Regions from separate parts of the Homo sapiens genome. Here region 2 is linked to region 1. The links are contacts of gene promoters, found by promoter capture Hi-C in blood cells and fetal thymus (Javierre and others, 2016). All regions are on one chromosome and are shown on one strand. The core of a region is centred on a gene start or on the middle of the fragment in contact, and the rest is flanking DNA. Distances in the headings are between cores, read along the strand shown. Region 1 holds the start of EEF1E1 (eukaryotic translation elongation factor 1 epsilon 1). Region 2 holds the start of TMEM170B (transmembrane protein 170B).

Evidence for each region. The method cuts DNA at HindIII sites, captures the fragments that hold promoters and counts their contacts. A CHiCAGO score of 5 or more calls a contact.
Region 2: the fragment with the promoter of TMEM170B here is called in contact with the fragment with the promoter of EEF1E1 in region 1 in 2 of 17 cell types (total CD8 T cells and non-activated CD4 T cells); the score reaches 6.7 in total CD8 T cells.

Annotation. Positions count from the first base shown.
Region 1 is chr6:8,099,875-8,106,165 of GRCh38, reverse strand. It overlaps EEF1E1 (eukaryotic translation elongation factor 1 epsilon 1), which reads left to right and starts at 3,618. Exons shown (of 4, transcript NM_004280.5): 1 at 3,618-3,731. The coding sequence starts at 3,645. EEF1E1-BLOC1S5 (EEF1E1-BLOC1S5 readthrough (NMD candidate)) reads left to right here and starts at 3,571. Exons shown (of 7, transcript NR_037618.1): 1 at 3,571-3,731. RefSeq lists silencers at 3,366-3,565, 3,706-3,825, 4,034-4,219. The HindIII fragment of the contact is 8,997 bases long and covers 535-6,291 here.
Region 2 is chr6:11,534,708-11,540,998 of GRCh38, reverse strand. TMEM170B (transmembrane protein 170B) reads right to left here and starts at 3,250. Exons shown (of 3, transcript NM_001100829.3): 1 at 2,625-3,250. The coding sequence starts at 2,721. RefSeq lists silencers at 2,297-2,576, 2,587-2,666, 2,767-2,926, 2,957-3,786 and an enhancer at 2,456-2,957. The HindIII fragment of the contact is 5,632 bases long and covers 1-5,433 here.

The sequences.
Region 1 (6,291 bases), core at 2,369-4,868:
AGAGAACAAAATGCATGCATAGCACCTGCATCACTTCATTTACCACATATTTAATATCATTCACACCTAAGTTTAAAACCCTATCATATTCTGAAATAGAAAGTTAAACTCTTCTAAAACTGAAAATTTGCAGATGATGGCACTGCTAAGAGCAATCTGATACAGTAACAGTTTCTGGCATATGCAGCTCATTTTAACAGATGCCCATATGACATACAGAAAGCTGTCAGGCATGCTCCAAAAAGAAAAGCCATCCAGTTTATGTTCCACTTGCCAAATTAATTTCATTTGACATTTAATTTATATCCTAAGGTACTGTGGATTTAAAACTTGACTATGATAATAGCAGATTAGAGAAGTGTTCTATTTGACAAAATCAATTCATCAAGTTACTTTTATTATGAGTAAGGCTGTGTTGATATAGATATTTCAGATCAAATATGTAGATCATCTAAAAATACATTTATTGATTATTTCTAATAAAATATAAGCTTTCTCCTCTTTCTTATGTCTAATGTTAAGTGAAGTAAAGCTTGCACCTGCTCACCGTAACAACAGAGAAAGGAGACATTAGAAAATCAGAACAGTGTGGATTTAAAAGCCAGGAAGCAGAGTTGAAATTCTGCATCTGCCATAGGGGGTTTCAACCCTGGCCACATATTAGACTCAGCTGAGGATTAAAAAAATAATAATAATAGCACCCAGTCCCACCCCGGATAAAGTGAATCAGAATCTCCAGTATGGCATGGATTTTTTTTTAAATCCCCAGATGATTCATGCACAGATCTATTAGTTATGTGAATTTGGGCATGGAATTTAATACCCATAGTATATAAAATGGAATGTAGTAGACATTTGCCACAATCATGATGTGACAATCCACTTAAAAAAATTAACAGTTTATTAGTTGGAACCAGACTTGAAAAAAAGATTTATATATTGCAATTGGTTGACAGTTCCCTTATAATGCTTTCAACTTACAGGTTCACTTCTCTCTGCCTCTTCTTTTTGCTTTGCAATTTACTTGTTGAAACAACTGGATCATTTGTCCTATAGTTTTCATGATCTAGAATTTGCTCATTGCATCTCCATGACATCATTTAACATGATCCTCTTTCCTGCTATTATTTCTTGTAAATTGGCTGTTAGATCAAAAGGCTTGGTCAAATTCAGATTCGATTGGCAAGACTGGGTGATGATGTACACCTCTCTCAGAAGCAATTTATGTCTGTTTGTCTCTGTTTTTATGATGTGAATAGCTATTGATAATTGTCACCTAGATTCATTATTATATCCGTAGCTGCAAAACAATAATATTCTATTGTTCTGTTTTTATTAGTTAGAATTCTATAAAGACATTTTTCCTCATTAGAGTTTAGTTTCCCTGAGATACAGTTTACATAGGATAATCATGAAAAAATATATTGGTTTCTTCATGTGTTTTCTTTATCCTTTTTCAAAATAATGAATTGGATCTCTAGTATCCTCCAAAGGTAACGAATGAGGGTTATTTTGATTTTGTTCTTGTTTTTTTTTTAGTATCATTATGAACTCATAGACTTAAACATATTCAACATGTTTCAATTCATTGCAATTATTCTTATCGACTCTCAGCTTGTAATGACTATTATTGACCCTCAAGTGATCTGATCCTACCCTTTGACTCCCCTCATTACTCTTAGATACTTTCTTTTCTTTCTACTATAACTAGATGGTCCAGACTGATCTCCCCGCAAGGTTTGGATTCAGCCGGTCTCCAAAGAGCCCCCATTTCTTTTTGTGGGAAATAGTATTTGAAACCAGAATCTGGGTGCTGGGGTGCTCATTGCTACTGAGTTGTCCTTGTTTCTAGGCCTTTTAAGTAAACAGAGCTAGGTAGGAAATACTTTTCATTTTCCTTAAGATAAAAGCGTCATAAGTTCATATTGATATTACAATTCAAATTCAGGACCAGAAAGTTTTGATTTAACCTCATCTACCTTACAACTCCTCTTTTGGGCAACACCAAACACCCAACTTTCCAGCAACACCACATGATTGCATCTTTGCTTTATTCCACAGTACATATACAGCACCATACCAATGCTGACACTGCCAAGATGCTAACCAAACCAACAAACAAAAAGAACCAAAAACAGGTTTTCATGAATTTTGTCCTTAAAGCATATCTTACTAAGAGTATACAATTAAATGACTGTGCTATAAAGTCACTTAAAAGAGGTCCACACTGGGTGATGATGTCATCAATTTGATGTACAATATGCTTTGTTCTGCTTTCAGTTTTTTAGGGATTTCTTTTTTAATTTGATATTTCTATAATTATGCAAAGGCCAAACCTTATTTTCAATATACCACCCATTGGCATTGGATAAATGTTAATTTTTTTAAAAAATGTTTTATTACAAGCAAAAAGTGTACCTAAACCCTGAAAATGGATATGTGAATTATCTTAGAGGGTTGGTCTTTTAAAAAGTAGTAGAATAGTCATTCCATTATCTGAATATGGAAAGTAAAACAGATAATTTAGTGCCTAACAATCCACTTATACTGAAATTTCTTTTGTATTTTGTTATGTTGATTTGGCAAAAGTTTCTTTTCCTTATGTTTACTTCTGCTGACAGAGTAAACTCATTAAGTATTCTGGGATAGGGAAGGTGTAACACAGTAACAACATTCCCCACTAAACTTTGATATTTCTGATTCAATGATGAGTTACCTTGTAGGATTGTTCTATTTCTCTCAGACTAATACACACTTTGTTTATTCATTCTTCAAAGTGGAAAATATTTTGTATTTTCACAAATCTTTTGGAAATATTCAACATATACTACTAATTTTCTTTCTTTCTTCCTTTCTTTCTTTTTTGAAGATACAAGAATGTAGCAAGTTAGTGGGGCAAAGTTATGCACCTTGTTTATTTATATACCAAAACTTCATAAATTATGTAACCAGCCTTCTGGTACTGCAAAAAAAGATCATTAATGCCATTAATGGCTTATTTCCTTGAGCTGTAATTATTTGACCCCTATCTGACATACTCCGTGTTCTGTGAATAATCTTTAAATGTATAATTCTACTGCTAGTGTTGAGCTGTAGATCAACAGTAGAAAAACCAGTTTTTCGAATTCACCACTACAACACAATTAAAATCCTCATGAATTATGCTACACGTTAGAAACTCCTAATGGACTGTGAACTTTTTGCTATTCAATTTGATTGTTCAAATTTACAGATTCCTGAACCAAACTAAGGCAAATTTCAGTTCCCATCATATATAAATTCTCTTAGACTAGCAAATGAGTTAACGAGTTACCGCTGGCAGCCATGTCAATAGATTGCCATTTAGAGATCCAGATCCAGTCTACTGCAGCCACCGAAGCCCGGCCTTGGGGCCTTTCTACCAGTAACTAGCTCCCCAACAGTTCGAGTGGAAATTTACCATCACTTCTCCACCTGTCTCACACCCCGCCCTCAGCCCCGCCCCTTCCACCGGCCCCGCCTCCTGTGCTTTGGCGCGCGCTCTCCACGCCCCTTCCGTTCAGCCAATCGCCGCTGAAGTTTGCAGGAGTGGGACTTCTGTTTCCACCAATGCGGGAGGTTCTTGTTCTGCAGGTCTCGCGTCTGCCAGGAGCTACGGCCGGAAGATGGCGGCGGCCGCAGAGTTGTCGCTACTGGAGAAGTCCCTGGGACTGAGTAAGGGGAATAAATACAGTGCTCAGGGCGAGCGACAGGTGAGAAGGAGAGGCGGCGCGGAGGGGAAGAGGTGGACGGGAGCGGGGCCTGCCGAGCCCTGGCAGGACCCGGGCCGGCCACCAGATACGGGCGGAGTGAGGATGCTGCTACCCAGCTCCCCACGTGTCTGCGCCGCTAGCCGGCTGGCGCCTCTGGGCCTCGGCCCCTGCCATCCTACCTCCTGGAGGGAGGGGTTAACCAGCTCAGGTTGGGCTTGGCCTGAACTTCACCTCCTGGGAAATTGTCATCATCCCATTATGAGGAAACAAAACCAGTTGGAGGAGGGTCCTCACAGGGCTCTTAGACCAACCTGGAATGTATTCAGTAACTGGCTTTTTTTTTTTTCCCGTAATCGCACCTTTCATTCAGTTATTGCGCAGCGACTCCGTTATAGCTAACAGGGTGCCAGGTAGCACCGTGCTGGGTCTGGGGAATACAATGATGATTTAGGGGAACATGCTTCCTCCTCTCAGGCAGCTTGCTTTTTGGCCAGGTGGACAAACATTGCAACCATTTAAATTGGAAGAGTGCCACGTTGCACCATAAATGGCAGAGAGAACACCTAAGGAGTCTTGGCCCAATCTAGGGGATTCGGGGAAGGCGTTTCTAAAGCCTTGGATTATCAGTTTAAGTGTTACGACCCACAGTGAATGCGGGAAACATCACAAGGTATGAGATTGCCTGGTTAGGCACTGTTAGAACGTTTGTGTTTTATAGTTGTTTGTCGTAGAAGGAATGTATTAGAGAAGGAAATTGGTTGTAGGAAGACTACTTTGGATATATGTTTTTTTTGCTCCTTTGAGATTTTTTCCAAATGATGTTTGGTTTTTGTCTTTAATTTTTTCTCTTCTTCATTTGGTCCATGTGAAGATCTTGTCTAGAAAGTAGTAGTATAGTTTTTATTTAAGTTAACCTGAAGCCTAGAAAGGTTAAGTGTTCAGCCTAAGATCAGCCCTGTGATTGGTGGCAGAGTAGGCGTTGGAGCCAAAGTGGCCTTCTTTTGGTGTTTCCTCTGCCCCAGTGATAATTCCGTCCCTTCGGCCCCTACTCCCTAGCTTAGTGTATATATTATATAATATATATGTAGTATAAATATAATATATATGGCCGAGTGGACAAACATTGCAACCGTTTAAATTGGAAGAGTGCCATATATATATATATATATATATATATATATATATATATATTTTTTTTTTTTTTTTTTTGAGACAAAGTCTCACTGTGTCGCCCAGGCTGTAGTGCCATGGCATGATCTCGGATCACTGCAACCTCTGCCTCCCGGGTTCAAGCGATTCTTCTGCTTCAGCCTCCCAAGTAGCTGGGGTTACAGGTGTTCGCCACCACGCTCAGCTAATTTTTGTATTTTTAGTAGAGACCGGGTTGCACCATGTTGGCCAGGCTGGTCTTGAACTGGTGACCTCAGGTGATCCACATGCCCTGGCCTCCTAAAGTGCTGGGATTACAGGCGTGAACCACTGTGCCTGGCCTAGTTTATATTTTTTAGGGACCATTGCCAAGATATGAGTATTATCTAGTATGAGAAACAATCATCAGCAAATAATTTAAAGCACAACATAGTAAGCACTTCATGGACTGTCGTGGGTGAGCAGCAACTCTCTGGGGCTGGTGGCGCCAGGGTAAGAATTTACCAGGACAGCTGTACGTAAAGAAAAGCAGATTTATTAGAGAAAGTATGAAAATATGTTGCAAGAGTGCAACAGGCAAGTTAGTAAGAGAGGAGCTAACTGCAAGGAAACAAAGGCTGGCTGGGGATTTTACGGAATAGTACTTCAGTTGTGTGCTGAAGAGGGGTTTGTGCAGTACTGATAACACCAAGGTTGCAGTGAGCTAACTTGAGTTTTCTATCAGCCGAAGGTCCGGTGATAGCTGGACATGGAAAGATTGTTGAGTTATTTGTGCAGAAGGGCTGTGTCCTGGACCATGAAGAAAGGCAGACTTGTAGCTTATCGCCCTTCTCTTTTTGCTTTCCCTTGGTCCCCTCAACCTGACTTCTTTTCCCTAATTAGGACTCCATATGGAGCAAAACACTGTTGAGGAGTGTGAAAAAGGAAGTTAATTCTGACTATAAAAGTGGATGTATAAACTCATGGAAGAGCTGGCATTTAAGGGATTATGCTTTGAAAGATGTGTAAAACCAATAAATTATGAAGGATTGGGAAGTTTAGGGCAGTAAGTAAACCAATATGAGGAATGATGCAATGCAAGGTAAACCCCAAATTACAGTTTGAGGCCCAACTGTGAAGACTTCCGAGTTCAGAGTGTGGTTTTTAATTTAATTTTAATTAAAGCATTTTAGCAGTTAGCAGCTAGTGAAAGTTTCTGTTTACTTGTATGGGGAAAGGGTTGGCCATATGTGATAAGATTCAGCCATTTTTTGAGAAGACAGCTGACAGCAGTGAGCCAGCAATAAGGCATTCTCTGCAACATTACCAATCATAGTTTAAAAATTGAAAGCAGTTCAGAGATCCTTATCTAGGATATTGATTCTTTAAATTATGGTACATCAACACATTGACATACAGTCACGTGTTATTT
Region 2 (6,291 bases), core at 2,001-4,500, 3.4 Mb before region 1:
GAGAACTGCTCAGAAAAAAAAAAGATTCCTTTCATTTTAATGAGTATTTTCTTCAATGACAATGTACCTGGTCAACCAAGAGCTGTGATGGAGATGTCCAAGTAGATCAATGTTGTTTTCATGACTGCTAACACAACATCCATTCTGCAGACCATGGATCAAAGAGTAATTTTGACTTTCTAGTCTTATTATTTAAGAAATACACTGTGTAAGAAGGCTAAAACTGCCAGAGATAGTGATTCCTCTGATGGACCTGGGCAAAGGAAATTGAAAACCTTCTGGAAAGGAGTCACCATTCCAGATGCCCTTAAGAACAATCGTGACTCATGAGAAGAGGTCCAAATATCAACTTTCATAGGAGTTGGAAAGCAATTGACTCCATTCCTCATGGATGACTTTGAGGGGATCAACACTTTAGTGGAGGAAGTAACCATAGGTGTGGTCGAAATAGCAAGAGAACTAGAATTAGAAGTGGAGCCTGAAGATGTGACTGAATTGTTGCAATCTCATGATAAAGTTTGAATGGATGAGGAGTTGCTTCTTATGGATGAGCAAAGAAAGTGGTTTCTTGAGATGCAATCTACTCCTGGTGAAGATCATGTGAACACCGTGGAAATGACAACAAAGGATTTAGACTATTAGATAAACTCGGTTGATAAAGCCGCAGCAGGGTTTGAAAGGACTGACTCCAATTTTGAAAGTTCTACTGTGGATAAAATGCTACCCAACAGCATCCCATGCTACAGAGAAATCTTTCATGAAAGGAAGAGTCTATTGCTCTTCCTTAGTGGCAAACTTCATTGCTGTTTTAAGAAAACTGCCATCATCCCAATCTCCAGCAATCATCACCTTGATCAGTCAGCAGTCATCAACACAAAGACAAGACCCTCTACCAGAAAAAAGATAACGTCCTTGCTGAAGGCTCAGATGATCGTTAGCAATTTTTCAGCAATAAAGTATTTTTAAATTAACGTCTGTACTTTTTTTTCAGACATAATGCTATTTCACATTTAAAGACTACAGGTAAAATGTAACTTTTACATGCACTAGGAAAACAAAAAATTCATTTGGCTCACTTTATTGCAATATTTGCTTTATTGTGGTGTTCTGGAACCAAACCTGCAATCTTTCCAAGGTATGCCTGCACAAATATATGTTAAGTCCCTACTTTTCATTTCACTTAAACAAAAACTGGTACAGTTCAAATACCAAACAGTGGATAAATGCAAGCAAAATCATAAGTAAGATAAAGCAGTCTACCTCTAAATTCAACTGAATCATGAGATGGTCTTTATGTCCATTTAGTTTTCCAGAATTATAACAATATATTCCTTACCGGCAATCATCATGTAAAGTCAGTCTGTTTCAAGTTAAATAACCACAGCTTAAAAGTGAGGATAGCATGAAGCAATCCAGAATCTACTTTAACTGTATAGTTTCCATTCGAAGAAACCAGTGTCCTTAAAGTTGTCTTTTGTGGTATATAATTCCATAAAATTTTCTTCTATGAATGTTTGTATTCTATACCATGCCAGACTTTATATATATGTTATATATATGAACCCAGGTTATATTTGTAAAATACTCACAACACTTTAACCAGTTTGACAAAATGCATTTTGAAATACTAATGTTCTACTGAAATTAACTGCCTTACACATTTTCAAGAATTAAATTCTGAGTATTTTTTTAAGATTTTTTTCCTCTGAAAAGCAGGCACTGAGGAGTCACCAAATCGCAACTGAATCTCTTTCTCGTAAATTCTACTTCAGAGAATAATTTTTAAATTCGGAACTCAAAGTATAATGTAAGCATTTCCACATAACAAAACCAGAAGTTTCTTCACAAAGCAAATCTACAGACTGAATAAAAATATTGTGTGTTTTATCACTCACTTTTACAAATAGAAATTGATGTTATAAGGCCAATTACTGACAGCCTTAATAAATGAAGGGAAATACACAAAATTATCAAATGTCTCAGAAGCAGCAGCTGGAGGCCTGAGGGAAAGAGACAGACAGACAAAAGGAAATGGGAGGGGAAGGAGATATATGAAGCTAACACGCTTAGACCGCACTAGACCTTAGCTCAGCCCCTGACCCACTATAATTTACTCAGTTATCTACATCGCCCAAAAAATTAGCGGTTGAAAAAGTAAATCGACCATTGTGGGCAATGATTTTAGGTTCTACATTTGGCTTGAGATTTGCCAGAAAGAAAAAGAACTAAATCAGAAAAAGATGTAAATAGCAAGAAGCGATGTGTGTAGAAGGGGGAGGGGAGGAGGGTAATGGAATAAAAGCGAAATGCGCTCAAGTCTCAGCACTAAAGCTACTCCGCGCGTACTACAGAGGCCGGGCCGCCACCGGGAGCTCTCCCCGTGCGGGGCAGGAGCGGGGGTCGCTGATGCTCCCCTGGCGACTCAGGGAAGGGGGTGGCGGGAGCCGGCGCCCCCGGGACACGCGCAGAGTGGCTCCGATTAACACCTTCCTCGCCGGGACCTGGAGCTCCGAGCGGGGCGCGCACGGGGGTGGGGCGGCGAGGAGCGTGTCCCCTCCCGAGGAAGGAGAAGACAGGAGAGGGGCGGACCGCATCCCCGTCCCCAGCCCAGGCGCGTCAATTACCCGTGAGGTTCCTCAGCACCGTCCCGTGGGCCCAGAGGCTCAGGACCTGCTGCACCGACAGGTTGATCATGGAGTGGTCGCCCCCCTCCGCCTTCATCTTCCCCGAGGGGCGCCCGCCGCCCTCTCCTCGGGTGCCGGGCGGCGGCGGCGGCTGCGAGGCTCGGGGGGCGGCGGCGGGTGCGCGGCTCCTCCAGGCCGCCGCCGCTGGTGGAGGCTGCGGGACGCCGGGCCGGGCGCTGCTGCTGCTGCAGCCGGAGGGCCTCCGTGGGGGGGCCGCTCAGCGTGTCTCCCAGGCAGCCCCCTCCCCGCCGGGGAGACATTGAGGACGGCGGACGGAGGAAGGAGGGGAGGGGGCCGGGCGCCGTCCTCGCGCGGCCCCCGAGCGAGGACTCGGGGCGGAGGAGGCCGCCGCCGCTCCCTCTCAGGGGCAGCGCCGCGCCGCGGGGACTGGACACGCGAGGAGGCCGAGGTCACGCCAGGAGGCCGGTGCTGATGGGCAGCCGGCAGGTGCAGCCCCCGACAGGGCCCAGCTCATCGCCGCCGGAGGACGGAGACGCGGGACCAGCCAGAGGCTGCGGCGGCACCTGCCGCCCGCCTGCCCGCCCTCGGGTCGCCGACACTCGAGGAACCGCCCCCTCCACCCGCAGCCGCCGGCGGGCCACTCGTGCACGCGCACGCGCGCGCCTCTCAGCGCCGGCCCCTCCTCCCCTGCGCTCCCCGGAGCCGCTGCGCATGCTCACTCCCCCGCTCCCCGCGACCCGCCGCCCTCCAACAGCCGGTCGGCCCCAAAGCCCTCCTTCTCGCTCTCCCCTCGCGCTGCAGCGCGCGTGGCTGACGGCGCCGAGCGACGGCCCGCAGTGGGGCGGAGGGAAGCGCGGTCTACGTCACTGGCGCCACCGCCGGGCCTTACTGCTGATTGGGCGCTCCAAGGGAACCGCCTCCACGCCCCCCACCCCCGGACCCCGGGCGCGCGCCCTGAGAGACCGGGAGACCTGGATCCCTCGCCCTGGCCCGGCTGGGTGCGCGCGGTGCGGGCGGCGTGGGCGGTGCGGGCATTTCGGGGGCCCGCGCTGCAGGGGCAGCCCTGACCCAAGGTGGGGCTGCTGAACTCGGTGAGGTGGATACTGTGACAGTTCAGATTTTTGCCTTAAAATGTAATGCTTTTTGATAAAGATGCTTATGTATAACTTTTTTAAAAAGGTGTCACTATCTCAGCATTTAGATATATTAATTTGCGGGGTTTTTTTTCTGAGCCTGAATCGAATGACCTGGATAGGTCACTTACTTGCAGAATGCATGTTAAAACCCCTAAAACACAAACAGACCTGCGTTATCATTCTGCTAATCCCTCTTCCCGCAGCAAGAACTTGGGCCTCCCGGGGTTCCAGGACCTGCCTGACATTACCTGTTTACTCCAGGCTCGGCAGGTGTCCTAATCCTCAAGGCCATCGCCGGCTCTAGCCCCCCTTTTTTTGATGGTAGTATTCTTTTATCTAAGTTGCGTCTGTTATTTTTTTCCCTCGAACTTAAACTAGATCTCTCTCCCCACGCTTTGCTGTCTGTCTTCATGTCCAGCGTTAGCCAGAGGAGCATCTAAAATCCAACTACAAGTTAAACTCCTCGAAATTGGAAACCTTCTAACTTTAAAAAATAAAAATTTAAGTTTTAGCAGTAACATAAATATGCAGTAGCCAGCCCCTCCCCCCACCTTTTTTCAACCCCTCTGCCATCTGGATAAAGAAAAATTTACAAAGAGAAGTGAAGAAATACCTGCTGTAGCTAAATCATGAAGTATATTTGACAAAGCACTGAAGGGTCAAATTACCTGTCAAATGGTGCTCTTGGTGACCACTTTAAAATAATATTTACATACACATTTATTTCTTTGTTTATTTGTATTTTCTTTTTGATGTCACAACATAAGAGAAATTTTTGCACCATTAATAGGAATTGAGCCAAAACTCTTAATGTAGAGTTTATCTTCCTCCTAGAATTTAGACTTAATTAGATCTATTAACAAGATTACAGAATATCAAACCTAAAAGAGCGCTTTAACATTTTTCTAATTTTATTTTACAGATAGGGAAACAGATTCTGTGAATTAAGTGACTTGACAGAGATGACAGCACTTCACAGCTCAGTTTCTGAATTCCTGGTCTATTATTCTTTCTAGCAACCACATTATCTTTCTTAACCCACTGTTAACTCCCTCACTTTAAGATTCTTGATGGGGAAGTGCAGGTTACCTAATGATATTCTTAAGGGACTTGGCATTACATAATTAGTGATGTTAGGGAATGTGACCACATTCAGTGAAGGGTTCACAGCAAACTCCCTGAGCAGGGGCTCATTAAACTCTCATATCAGAAACCTTTAGTTAGTTTACGTTCTTAGGATTGCACACTATTATTTAAAACACAGTAGCACGCAGTGAAAATATTCAGAACCTGGGACAGTGCCTGGCACCTGCACCACAAATATTTGTTGAATGAATCACTGAATGATCTTCATAGAAAAGTCAGCATTGTTCTTGTTCTGAATAAATATTTTTTACAGAATCCAAGTGTTCATGTCAGGAAATGAGAAAGACACAGCAATGAAGTCTCAAGTCAGTAATGTTATTTGCTGCCCAACAACTTCACCCCTGCTGTTCAGTTCAATTTAATTGGCGTCTATATTTATTTGGCATCTACTATCTGTAATGTTCTGTGCAAGGTGTTATCTGTAACATTTGAAGATAAGATCTCTACTCTCTAGGCTACTTAGGTTTTCCTTGATAAAAGTAATGATCTTGACTGTGTTGGAAGCTTATATCCTTAAGAGAATTAGACATTTTCCCAACAGCCAGAGTTATGAAACCCAAAACTGAGTTAATACAAATGAAAGTTTTGGAATTTCTTTCCTACAGATTTTTTATTTTGAATTAATACACCAATTCAGGAAGAGTTTAGTCACGTTCCTGTCAGAAATCAGGGACCACCCCAAGTGAATCCAAAAATTTCCTTTCAACTCTGTGCCCTTCAGCATGAAACAATTCACAAACGTAATTCATAAACCAAAATTCCTGGTTTATTTCTCTCATGTAAGTGAGGGAACACCCATTAGCCTTAGTCATTTTTAAAACTGTCCAGAGACAACCTAGAGGAAAGCTTTTTAAAATCAATTAAAATATAAAATGATATTGATCTTTTGAGAAAAACATTTTCAGGTATCTTTTCAGAAGCACCCCACTCTACTGGTATCAACTTAACGTATTAGTCCATTTTCACGCTGCAGATAAAGACATACCCAAAACTGGGCAATTTATAAAGGAAGAGGTTTAATTGGACTTACAGTTCCATGTGACTGGGGAAGCCTCACAATCATGGTGGAAGGCAAGGAGGAGCAAGTCCCGTCTTACATGGGTGGCAGCAGGCAACGAGAGAATGAGGAAGACGCAAAAGTGGAGACCCTTGATAAAACCATACAGAGCCAAATTATATCATTCCTCCCCTGGTCCCTGCCAACTCTCATGTCCTCACATTTCAAAATCAATCATGCCTTCCCAACAGTTCCCCAAGGTCTTAACTCATTTCAGCATCAACTCAATAGTCCACAGTCCAAAGTCTCATCTGAAACAAGGCTAGTCCCTTCCGCCTATAAGCCTGTAAAATCAAAAGCAAGTTAG